Regions from separate parts of the Homo sapiens genome. Here region 2 is linked to region 1. The links are contacts of gene promoters, found by promoter capture Hi-C in human tissues and cell types (Jung and others, 2019). All regions are on one chromosome and are shown on one strand. The core of a region is centred on a gene start or on the middle of the fragment in contact, and the rest is flanking DNA. Distances in the headings are between cores, read along the strand shown.

Region 1 (5,303 bases), core at 254-2,753:
CACCGCACCTGGCCTTTTTTTTTTTTTTTTTTTTTTTAATATGAGAGGGAGTCTCCCTCTCTTGCCCAGGCTGGTGTGCAGTGGCGCAATCTCAGCTCACAGCAACCTCTGCCTCCCGGGTTCAAGCGATTATCTGCCTCAGCCTCCCGAGAAACTGGGATTACAGGCATCTGCCACACTCCCGGCTAATTTTTGTATTTTTATTAGAGACGGAGTTTTACCATGTTAGCCAGGCTGGTCTAGAACTCCTGACTTCGTGATTCACCCGCCTCGGCCTCCCAAAGTGCTGGGATTACAGGTGTAAGCCACCGAGCCAGGCCTGATAATCTACTTTTTAAAAAATCTAATTCGGCCGGACGCGGTGGCTCATGTCTGTGATCCCAGCACTCTGGGAGGCGGAGGAGGGCAGATCACCTGACGTCGGGAGTTCGAGACCAGCCTGACCAAAACGGAGAAACCTCGTCTCTACTAAAAACACAAAAATTAGCCGGGTGTGGTGGCGGATGCCTGTAATCCCAGCTACTCGGGAGGCTGAGGCAGGAGAATCGCTTGAACCTGGGAGGCGGAAGTTGCGTTGAGCCGAGATCGCGCCACTGCACTCCAGCCTGGGCAACAAGAACAAAACTCCGTTTCAAAAAAAGAAAGAAAAAAATATTAATAATTCAAGTGCTTTTTTTTTTGTAAATTACTACATTGGGGGAAACAAAATTCAGGCTTAACCAACTATAAACTACAATTAACCTCTGATTATATAAACGGGAAATTTCCATCTTGATTGTACAAATTAAGAATCTACGTAACTGTACATAACCCATTACTGAATTTGGTTTTCTTCATTATGCACCTTATAAAACTCTTTCCGTCAAATCCCTTCCATAGACCATAAACTACAAACCACAGCTGGGTGCTCTGCCATTTTTGAATCACTCTTTGATTAAATCCTTTATTACTTTAGTGATGACTGCCATCAATTTTTAATAGGAGAAAAGAGGGACTGGAAACCTCACTGGACCAAAGCTCTTCCCATTCATGAACCCGCACCCGGAGTCAGGATTCTCCCCTGACGCCCCTCCCGTGGTCCCTGCACAATCTGTGAGAGAGGAGGCGCTGCGGGTGAAGAGCGGCCCAGAGAGGGCTCCAGGCCAGGGCATAGTCACAGTGCAGGAAGGAGGCAGGTCGCCCGGGGTCCCGCAGTCAGCGCAGCCGCCATCTTATGGCTGAAGGAGACTGAGGCCGAGCTGGGCAAGAGCTCGGGGCGCAGACTGTGGAGCTCACTGAGGGGAGGCCTGAGTCCCGCCACAGCCACTTTCCACCGGTTCCAGTCAGCCCCTTCCCCTTCTCAGGATATCGGACCCGGCACTCTCACCATTTCTAAGCTTCCAGGGGGTCCTGGCGTCCTAGCTGTGGATCTCCAAATACCTACAGGTCACAGGGCCACAGAGGCTAAGGACACAGAGCAGTAAAAACGAGATCCGGAGCTCCAGCTGGAACCAGAAACAACGGCCCCGCCACATCCCACAAGCCGCCCTTTCCGCTCCAGCTGAGTGCCTGATTGGACGGTTCCCAGCCCAGAGTCCCTGATTGGATAATGTTTAAATCCCCGCCTCCTCAGGCCCTGAGTGACAGAAGATGTGATCTGATGCTGAGCTGAATGAAGAGTGACGGGCCGGGCGCGGTGGCTCACGCGTGTAATCCCAGCACTTTGGGTGGCCGAGGCGGGTGAATCACCAGAGGTCAGGAGTTGGAGACCAGCCTGGCCAACATGGCAAAACCCGGTCTCTACTAAAAATAAAAATTAGGCTGGTGTGGTGGCGGGCGCCTGTAATCCCAGCTACTCCGGAGGCTGAGGCACGAGAATTGCTTAAACTCAGGAGGCGGAGGTTGCAGTGAGCCGAGATCGCGCCAGTGCACTCCAGCCTGGATGACAGAGCGAGATTCTGTCACGAAAAAAAGAAAAGAAAAGAAAAAGAAAGGAAAGGATGACAGTCTAGGCTGCAGCCTTTTCAGGCAGGGCTTCCTTCCTGAACTGAGCCAGGCCAACCCCAGAGGGTATTTGCATTTAACCTTTTGTATAAGGTCACATTCTTTTATAAATAATATATTATATGGTTATTCACAAATGAAAAGAATATAACAATTATCTAAAATTTTCAGAGTTTATGACCTTCCTGGCTTCTGGTTTTTTCATCAGATTGCCTGAGGTTTTAAAAAGAAGGCAATCCTCTGAAATAAAATTGTATTTTAAATTTTCTAGTAGCCAAACTTTAAAAATTAAAAAAAAAAAAAACAGGTGGAATTTATTGTAGCAATTTAATTAACCCAATATATCCAAAATATCATCTTAATACGTAAGCAAAATGTAAATTATAAATGAAGTGTAGATATTTTTTGGAACTTCATCTTTGAAACTAACTCTGTATTTTACCTTTCCAGCACATCACAGTTCAGACCAGCCACATTCCAGGCACTCAGTCGCCACACATGGCCAGTAGCTGCCACATTGAAGTGCAGCTCTGACCTTAGGAGAGGGAAGGGCCTGAACAAACCTTTTCTGCCAAAGATGGAAAAAGAGCCTTTCCCTACCAACATCTCTCTTCAGCTCTGAGGGAGGAACAGATAGTAGCCATAAATAAAGCACAGGACAGCAGGAAAAAACAACCACAGGTAGACCACTGCTGGCCACCTGTTGCCTACCTTTATTCCAGAGATCAGAAGGTGAACTAAGGATGGTAAGGCCACAGGAGAAGAAATCTCTGTGTCTTCAAATCTGTGCACAGTCTTGACCTCCAATGTTTAGATATGAAGAAAATAGATTAAAGGAAAACTTACTTTTCTATTTGTCCTTGGCCCTAATGGTCAGGCTGTGGTTATCTGTTTTCTCCTGTGGTATGGGGGACTGTGTGAGTATAGGCACCAATTACATGCATACATGTCCACATATATTTCTGCATTACTCAGCATTCTCTTACGAGGCCTCCAACTTTATATCAGGGGAAAAATCAGTACCTATAGGGTACCCACTGTTAGAAGAGAACTAGTAATCAACTTGTCAATGAATCCTGGCATCCTATCTGCACTGGGTGCATGTATTAATTAGCTATTGCAGCACAACAAATCATTCAAAACTTATTTGCTCATAATTGAGATGGTCAGCTATTTAGGGTGGGCTCAGTGAGGCTGTTCTTTTTGTCTCAGCTGAGCTCCTCCAGACATGTATCTTCAGCTGTTTGTTGAATAGGCAGCTGTGCTTCTGGGGATGAGCTTCTGCTTCTGGGGCTGTCAACAGGGGCAACTTGCTTCTCCTCCCCATGGTATCTTATCCTCCAGCTGGCTAACATGGGCTTTATTCATGGAGATGGCAGCATTCTGAAAGAAAAACAGAAGCATTCAAGACCTTTTGAGCCTACGCCCCAAACTAGTACATTGTCATGTTCACAGGTTTCTACTGCCCTGAGTGAATAAGGCCAGCAAAATCTAGGGTTTGAAAAGCATTCTGGATCTTGATGGGAACAGCTTTAAAAGCACCTACAATGGGCATGGATACAGGAAAAACTAGAAATTGCTACCATTTTTGAAATCAGTATCATTCTGCCTTTGTTTATTTGTTTGTTTGTTTTGCATATGTGGTTTATAGAACTCTTTCACATCAAGAATCTTGTCCAAAGACACACAGCTACTAAGTGGCTGGGCTGAGACTCAGGATCAACTCTGTCTGACTCCAAAGCCCACACACCTCCATAGATGACACTACTAAAGTAGCTGCCCTAGACCCTTGAAGTGTCCTGGAGGGTGACACTTCCACAGTAGAAGCCAGATTCCTTTTATTTTTTTTTTATTAATCTATTTCACTTCTTTTGAGACAGGGTCTCGCTCTGTCACCCAGGCTGGAATGCAGTAGTGCAATCTCGGCTCACTGTAACATCCTCCTCCCAAGTTCAAGTAATTCTCCTGTCACAGCCTTTCAAGTAGCTGGGATTTCAGGTGCTTGCCACCACACCTGACTAATTTTTGTATTTGTAGTAGAGACGGGGTTTCAGCATGTTGGCCAGGCTGGTTTCAAGCTCCTGACCTTAAGTAATCTGCCTGCCTTGGTCTCCCAAGGTTCTGAGATTACTAACATGAGCCACTGTGCCCAGCCTACATTCCTTTTACATTTGTGCCAATATAGTACTGTTTATCATTGGGAATAATCCTCTCAAGAATTTGCAGAAGTGCACAGTGGCTCACACCTGTAAACCTAGCATTTTGGGAGGCTAATGTGGAAGAATTACATGAGCTCAGGAGTTCAAGTGCAGGCTGGGTAACATAGTAAGAACCTGTCTTCACAAAAAAAAATTTAAAAATTAGCCGGACATGGTGGTACATGCCTGTAGCCCCAGCTACTCAGGTGGCAGAGGCAGAAGGATCGCTTCAGCCTGGAGGGTCAAGCTGCAGTGAGCCATGTTTGGATACACCACTGCACTCCAGCCTGGGTGATAGAGTAAGATGTTGTCTCAAAAAAAAAAAAAAAAAAAAAAGAATTTGCCAAAGCATTTTAAAAAGACATAGAATACTGGCCGGGCATGGTGGCTCAAGCCTGTAATCCCTGCACTTTGGGAGGCCGAGGTGGGTGGATCACCTGAGGTCAGGAATTCAAGACCAACCTGGCCAACATGATGAAACCCTGTCTCTACTAAAAACAAAAAAATTAGCCAGGCGTGGTGGCGGGTGCCTGTAATCCAGCTCCTCAGGAGGCTGAGGCAGAAGAATCACTTGAACCCAGGAGGCAGAGGTTGCAGTGAGCCGAGATTGCGCCATTGCACTCCAGCCTGGGCAACAAGAGCGAAACTGCATCTCAAAAAATAAAAAAAAAAGACATAGAATACTTTGTGTTTGTAGCTGATGGATAAGTTTAGAAAATCGAAACCCAACAACAGATTATTTTTCATCACAGAAAAAATTTGAAAACTTTTAAAAGAAAAATACTTTAGAGAAATTAAATTTAAAAGAGTTTAAATGGGCAAAGAATGATTTGCAAATTGGGCAGCCTGTGGAGCCAGAGTAGGCTCAGAGAGACTGCAGCATAGCCACATGGTGGAAAAAGATTTATGGACAGAAAAAGCAAAGTGACATACAGAAAATGGGGGTGAGATACAGAAACAGCCAGATTGATTACAGCTTGAGATTTGCCTTACTCAAACATGGTTTAAACAGCTGATGTTGTTTTATTGCCAAAAACACAGTAGTTGGTAGAAGAGTGGGTTACAGTCTATTCACATATCCAGTTAGGTTTCAGTTTACTATGTACAGAAAACCTATTGACA
Region 2 (5,832 bases), core at 166-2,665, 1.5 Mb after region 1:
TCCTATAGTGAAAAAGAAAATGTCTTCAGATAAAAACTAGAAAGAAGATTTCTGAGAAACTGCTTTGTGATGTGTGCATTCTTCACACAGAGGTAAACTTTTCTTTTGATTCAGCAGTTTGGAAACACTGTTTTTGTCCATTCTGTGAACTGACATTTTGGAGCTCATGGAGGCCAATGGTGAAAAAGAGAATACCCCAGGATAAAAACTAGAAGGAAGCTACCTGAGAAATCGTTTTGTGATGTGTGCATTCATCTCACAGAGTTAAAGCATTCTGTTAATTCAACAGTTTGTAAACACTGTTTTTGTAGAATCCGCGAAGGGATATTTGGAAGCACATTGAGGACTATTGTGAAAATGAAATTATCTTCAGATAAAAACTAGAAAGAAGCATTGAGAGAAACTGCTTTGTGACTTGTACATTCATTTTACAGAGTTAAAATTTCTTTTCATTCAGCAGTTTGGAAGCACTGTTTTTGTCCATTCTCTGAATGGACTTTTGGGAGGTCATTGAGGCCAATGGCAAAAAAGTGATTACTCCAGGATAAAAACTAGAAGGAAGCTATCTGAGAAATGGCTTAGTGGTGTGTGTATTCAACTCACAAAGTTAAATCTCTCTTTTGATTCAGCAGTTTGGAAACACTGGTTTTGTAGAATCTGCAAAAGGATATTTGGAGCACATTGAGGCCTATAGTGAAAAAGAAAATATATTCAGATAAAAACTAGAAAGAATCTTTCTGAGAAACTGCTTTGTGATGTGTGCATTCATCTTACAGAATTAAACTTTTCTTTTGATTCAGCAGTTTGGAAACACTGTTTTTGTAGAATATGTGAAGGGATATTTGGGAGCTTGTTGGTGCGAATGGTGAAAAAGTGAATATCCCAAGATAAAAACTAGAAGGAAGCTATCTGAGAAACCCCTTTGTAATATATACATTCATCTCATAGACTAAATCTTTTTTTTACTTAGCAGTTTGGAAAGACTGCTTTTGTACAATCTGTGAAGGGACATTTGGAAATGCATTGAGCCCTATAGTGAGAAAGAAAATATCTTCAGGTTAAAAGTTGAAGGAAGCTTTCTGAGAAACTGCTTTGTGATGTGTCCATTCATCTCACAGAGTTAAATCTTTCTTTTAATTCAGCTGTTTGGAAAGACTGTTTTTGTAGAATCTATGAAGGGATATTTGGGAGAGCTTTGAGGCCTATGGTGAAAATAAAATAATCAAATAAAAACTAGAAAGAAGCTTTCTGAGAAACTGCTTTGTGATGTGTCCATTCATCTCACAGAATGAAACCTTTCTTTTGGTTGAAGAGTTTGGAAACACTGTTTTTGTCCATTCTGAGGATGGACATTTGGGAGCTCACTGAGGACAATGGAAAAAAAGGAAATGTCCCAGGATAAAACCTGGAAGGAATCTATCTGAGAAACCACTTTGTGATGTGTGCATTAATCTCTCAGAGATAAACTGCCCTTTTAATTCAGCAGTTTGGGAACACTGTTTTGGGAGAATCTGAAAAGGAGCTTTTGAGAGCACTTTGAGGCCTATGGTGAAAAAGAAAATATCTTCAGATAAAAACTAGAAAGAAACTTTCTGAGAAACTGCTTTGTGATGTGTACATTCATCTCACAGAGTTAAAACTTTCTTTTCATTCAGCATTTTGGGAAGTATGTTTTTGTCCATTCTGCAAAAGGACATTTGGGAGCTCATTCAGACCAATGGCAAAAAAGAAAATATCCCAGGATAAAAACTAGAAGGAAGCTGAGAATCCATTTGTGATGTGCGCATTCATCTCACAGAGTGAAAATTTTCTTTTGATACATCAGTTTGGAAACATGGTTTTTGTAGAACCTGTGAAGGGATATTTGGGAGCACATTGAAGCCTAAGTTAAAAAAGAAAACATATTCAGATAAAAACTAGAAAGAACCATTCTGAGAAACTAGTTTGTGATGCATGCCTTCATCTCACAGTGTTAAACGTTTCTTTTGATTCAACAGTTTGGAAATGCTGTTTTTGTAGAGTTTGTGAAGGGATATTTGGGAGCTCATTGAGGCATCTGGTGAAAAGAAAATATCTTCAGATAAAAACCTGAAAGAAGCTTTGTGATGTATGCATTCATCTCATAGAGTTACACTTTTTTTTCTGATTTAACAGTTTGGAAATGCTGTTTATGTACAATCTGCGAAGGGATAATTTAGAGCACATTGAAGCCAGAGATGAAAAAGAAAATATTTTCAGATAACAACCAGAAAGAAGCTTTCTGATTAACTGCTTTGTGATGTGTGCATTCATCTCACAGAGTTAAACCTTTCTTTTGATTCATCAGTTTTGAAACACTGTTTTTTCCCACTCTGCGAACAGACATTTGGGAGCTATTGAGGCCAATGACGAAAAAGTGAATTTCCCAGGATAAAAAAAAGAAGGAATCTACTGGAGAAACCCCTTCATCATGTTTGCATTCACTTCGTAGAGTGAATCCATTCTTTTGATTCATCAGTTTTTAAATACTGTTTTTGTAGAATATGAGAAGGGATATTTGGAAGCACTTTGAAGCCTATGGTCAAAAAGAAAATATCTTCAGATAAAAACTAGAAAGAATATTTCTGAGAAACTGCTTTGTGATGTATGCATAAATATCACAGAGTTAAACTTTTCATTCAGCAGTTTGGAAAAATTGTTTTTGTCTATTCTCTGAATGGACACATGGGAGGTGATTGAAGCCAAAGGCGAAAAACAAATATCCCAGGAAAAAAACTAGAAGGAAGCTATCTGGCAAACAGCTTTGTCATGTGTGAATTCATCTGGTAGAGTGAAACCTTTATTTTCATTCAGCAGTTTGGAAACACTGTTTTTGTAGGATCAGCAAAGGGATATTTTGGAGTGTATTGGGGCCTATGGTGAAAAAAAAACCTTCAGATAAAAACTAGAAAGAAACTTTCTGAGAAACTTTTTGATGTATGCATTCAACTCACAAAGATAAAACTTTCTAATGATTCAGCACTTTGGAAACACTGTTTTTGTCCATTCTGTGAATAGATATTTGGGAGCTCATTGAGGTCAACTGTGAAAAAGTGAATAACCCAGGTTAGAAATAGATGGAAGCTATCTGAGAAACCCCTTTTTGATGCTCCCATTCGTCTCGTGCATTAAACCATTCTTTTCATTCAGCAGTTTGGAAACACTGTTTTTGTAGAATCTGTGAAGAAATATTTGGGAGCGCATTGAGGCCAATTGTGAAAAAGAACATTACTTCAGATAAAAACTAGAAAGAAGCCTTCTGAGAAACTGCTTAGTGATGTGTGCATTCATCTCACAGTGTTAAACCTTTTTTTTGATTCAGCAGTTTGGAACCACTGTTTTTTCTTCCATTCCGCAAATGGACATTTGGGAGCTCACTGAGACAAGAGTGAAAAAACAAATATTCCAGGATAAAAACTAAAAGGAAGCTATCTGAGAAACTGCTTTGTGATGTGTGCTTTCATCTCACAGACTTAAACGTTTCTTCTCATTCAGCAGTTTTGAAACACTGTTTTTGTAGAATCTGTGAAGGGATATTTTTGGGTGCTTTGAGGCCTATGGTGAAAAAGAAATAATCCTGAGATAAATCTAGAAAGAAGCTTTCTGAGAAACTGTTTTGTGATGTGTGCATTCATCTCACACAGTTCAACCTTCCTTTTTATTCAGAAGTATGGAAAAACTATTTTTGTCCATTCTGCAAATGAACATTTGTGAGCTCATTGAGGCCCATGGCAACAAAGTGAATATCCCAGGAAAAAAAGGAGAAGGAAGGTATCTGAGAAACTGCTTTTGGATGTGTGTATTCATCTCACAAAATTAAACTTTTCTTTTCATTCAGCAGTGTATAAACACTGTTTTTGTAGAATCTGTGAATGGATATTTGGGAGTGCATTGAGGCCTGCGGTGAAAAAGAATATATCTTCAGATACAATCTAGAAAGAAGCTTTCTGAGAAACTTCTTTGTGATGTGTGCATTTTTCTCAGAGAGTTAAACCTTTCTTTTGCTTCAGTAGTTTGGAAACACTGTTTTTGTCCACTCTGCTAATGGACATTTGGGATCTCATTGAGGTCAATGGTGAAAAACGAATATCCCAGGATAAAAACTAGAAGGAAGCTATCTGAGAAACTGCTTTGTGATGTGTGCATTCATCTCACAGATTGAAACCTTTCTCTTCATTCAGCAGTTTGGAAACACTGTTTTTGTAGAATCTAAAAAGAGATATTTAGGAGCGCATTGAGTTAAACCATTCTTTTGATTCAGCAGTTTTGAAACAGTGTTTTTTGCTTTCTGTGAATGGACATTTGGAAGCTCATTGAGGACAGTAGAGAAAAAAGGGAATATTCCAGTTTAAAAACTGGAAGGAAGCTATCTGAGAAACCTCTTTGTGATGTGTGTATTCATCTTGCAAAGATAAATGGTTCTTTTCATTCAGCAGTTTTGAAGCACTGTTTTTTGTAGAATCTGAAAACAGATATTTGGGAGTGCATTGAGGCCTGTGGTGGAAAAGAAAATATTTGGGAGTGCATAGAGGCCTATGGTGAGAATGGAAATATCTCCCAATAAAAACTAAAATGAAGGTTTCTTAGACACTGCTTTGTGATGTGTGCATGCATGTCACAGAGTTAAAACTTTCTTTTGATTGAGCAGTTTGGAAACCCTGTTTTTATAGAATCTGTGATTGGATATTTGGGAGTGCATTGAGGCCTATGGTGAGAATGGAAATATCTCCCGATAAAAACTAAAATGAAGCTTTCTGAGACACTGCTTTGTGATGTGTGCATTCATGTCACAGAGTTAAAGCTTTCTTTTGATTGAGCAGTTTGGAAACCCTGTTTTTATAGAATCTGCAATCAGATATTTGGGAGTGCATTGAGGCCTATGGCAAAAAATGAAATATCTTCAGATAAAAACTAGAAAAAAGCTTTTTTCAGATACTCCTTTTTAATGTATGCGTTCATCTCACAGAGGTAAACCTTACTTTTGATTGAGGAGTTTGGAAACACTGTTTTGGTAGAATCTGGGAAGGGATACTTGGGAATGCATTGAGGTCTATGGTGAGAAAAGAAATATCTCCAGGTTAAAACTAGAAAGAAGCTTTCTGAGAAACTGCTTCATTTGTCTACATTCACCTCATAGAGTTAAATCTTTCTTTTGATTGAGAAGTTTGGAAAAATTCTTTTTGTACAATTTGTGAAGGGATATTAGGAAGCACATTGAGGCCTTTGGGGAAAAAGGAAATATCTTAAGAGAAAAACTAGAAAGAAGCTTTCTGAGAAACTGCTTTGTGATGTGTGCATTCATCTCACAGAGTTAAACGTTTATTTTGATTGAGCAGTTTGGAAATATTGTTTTTGTAGAATCTGCGAAGGGATATTTTGTGAGTGCAATAAGGCCTATGGTAAAAAAGCAAATATCTTCAGAGAAAAAATAGAAAGAAGCTTTCTGAGAAACTGCTGTGTGATGTGTATGTTCATCACACAGAGTAAAAAATGTCTTTTTATTGAGCATTTTGGAAACACTCTTTTTTTAGAATATGTGAAGGGATATTTTGGAGTGCATTTAGGCCTATGATTAAATAGGAAATATCATTACAGAAAAACTAGAAAGAAGCTTTCTGAGAATCTCTTGGTGATGTGTGCATTCATCACACAGAGTTAAACATGTCTTTTGACTGAGCAATTTGGCAACACTGTTTGGAGAATCTGTGAAAGGATAGTTGGGAGTGCATTGAGGTCTATGGTGAAAAAGGAAATACCTTCAGAGAAAAACTAGGAAGATTTCTCAGAAACTGCTTTGTGATGTGTGCATTCATC

The links. Contacts are between HindIII fragments. The study calls those that stand out against the background at their distance.
Region 2: a contact is called between a fragment that was not itself captured here and the fragment with the promoter of ZNF99 in region 1, in 1 of the 25 tissues and cell types used here (dorsolateral prefrontal cortex).

The regions. Positions count from the first base shown.
Region 1 is chr19:22,782,648-22,787,950 of GRCh38, forward strand. It overlaps ZNF99 (zinc finger protein 99), which reads right to left and starts at 1,504. Exons shown (of 4, transcript NM_001080409.3): 1 at 1,367-1,504. The coding sequence starts at 1,369. The HindIII fragment of the contact is 12,356 bases long and covers 1-5,303 here.
Region 2 is chr19:24,312,547-24,318,378 of GRCh38, forward strand. No RefSeq gene overlaps it. Among named protein-coding and RNA genes, the nearest start is that of LINC03085, 170 kb to the left of the region's middle. The HindIII fragment of the contact is 3,042 bases long and covers 1-2,936 here.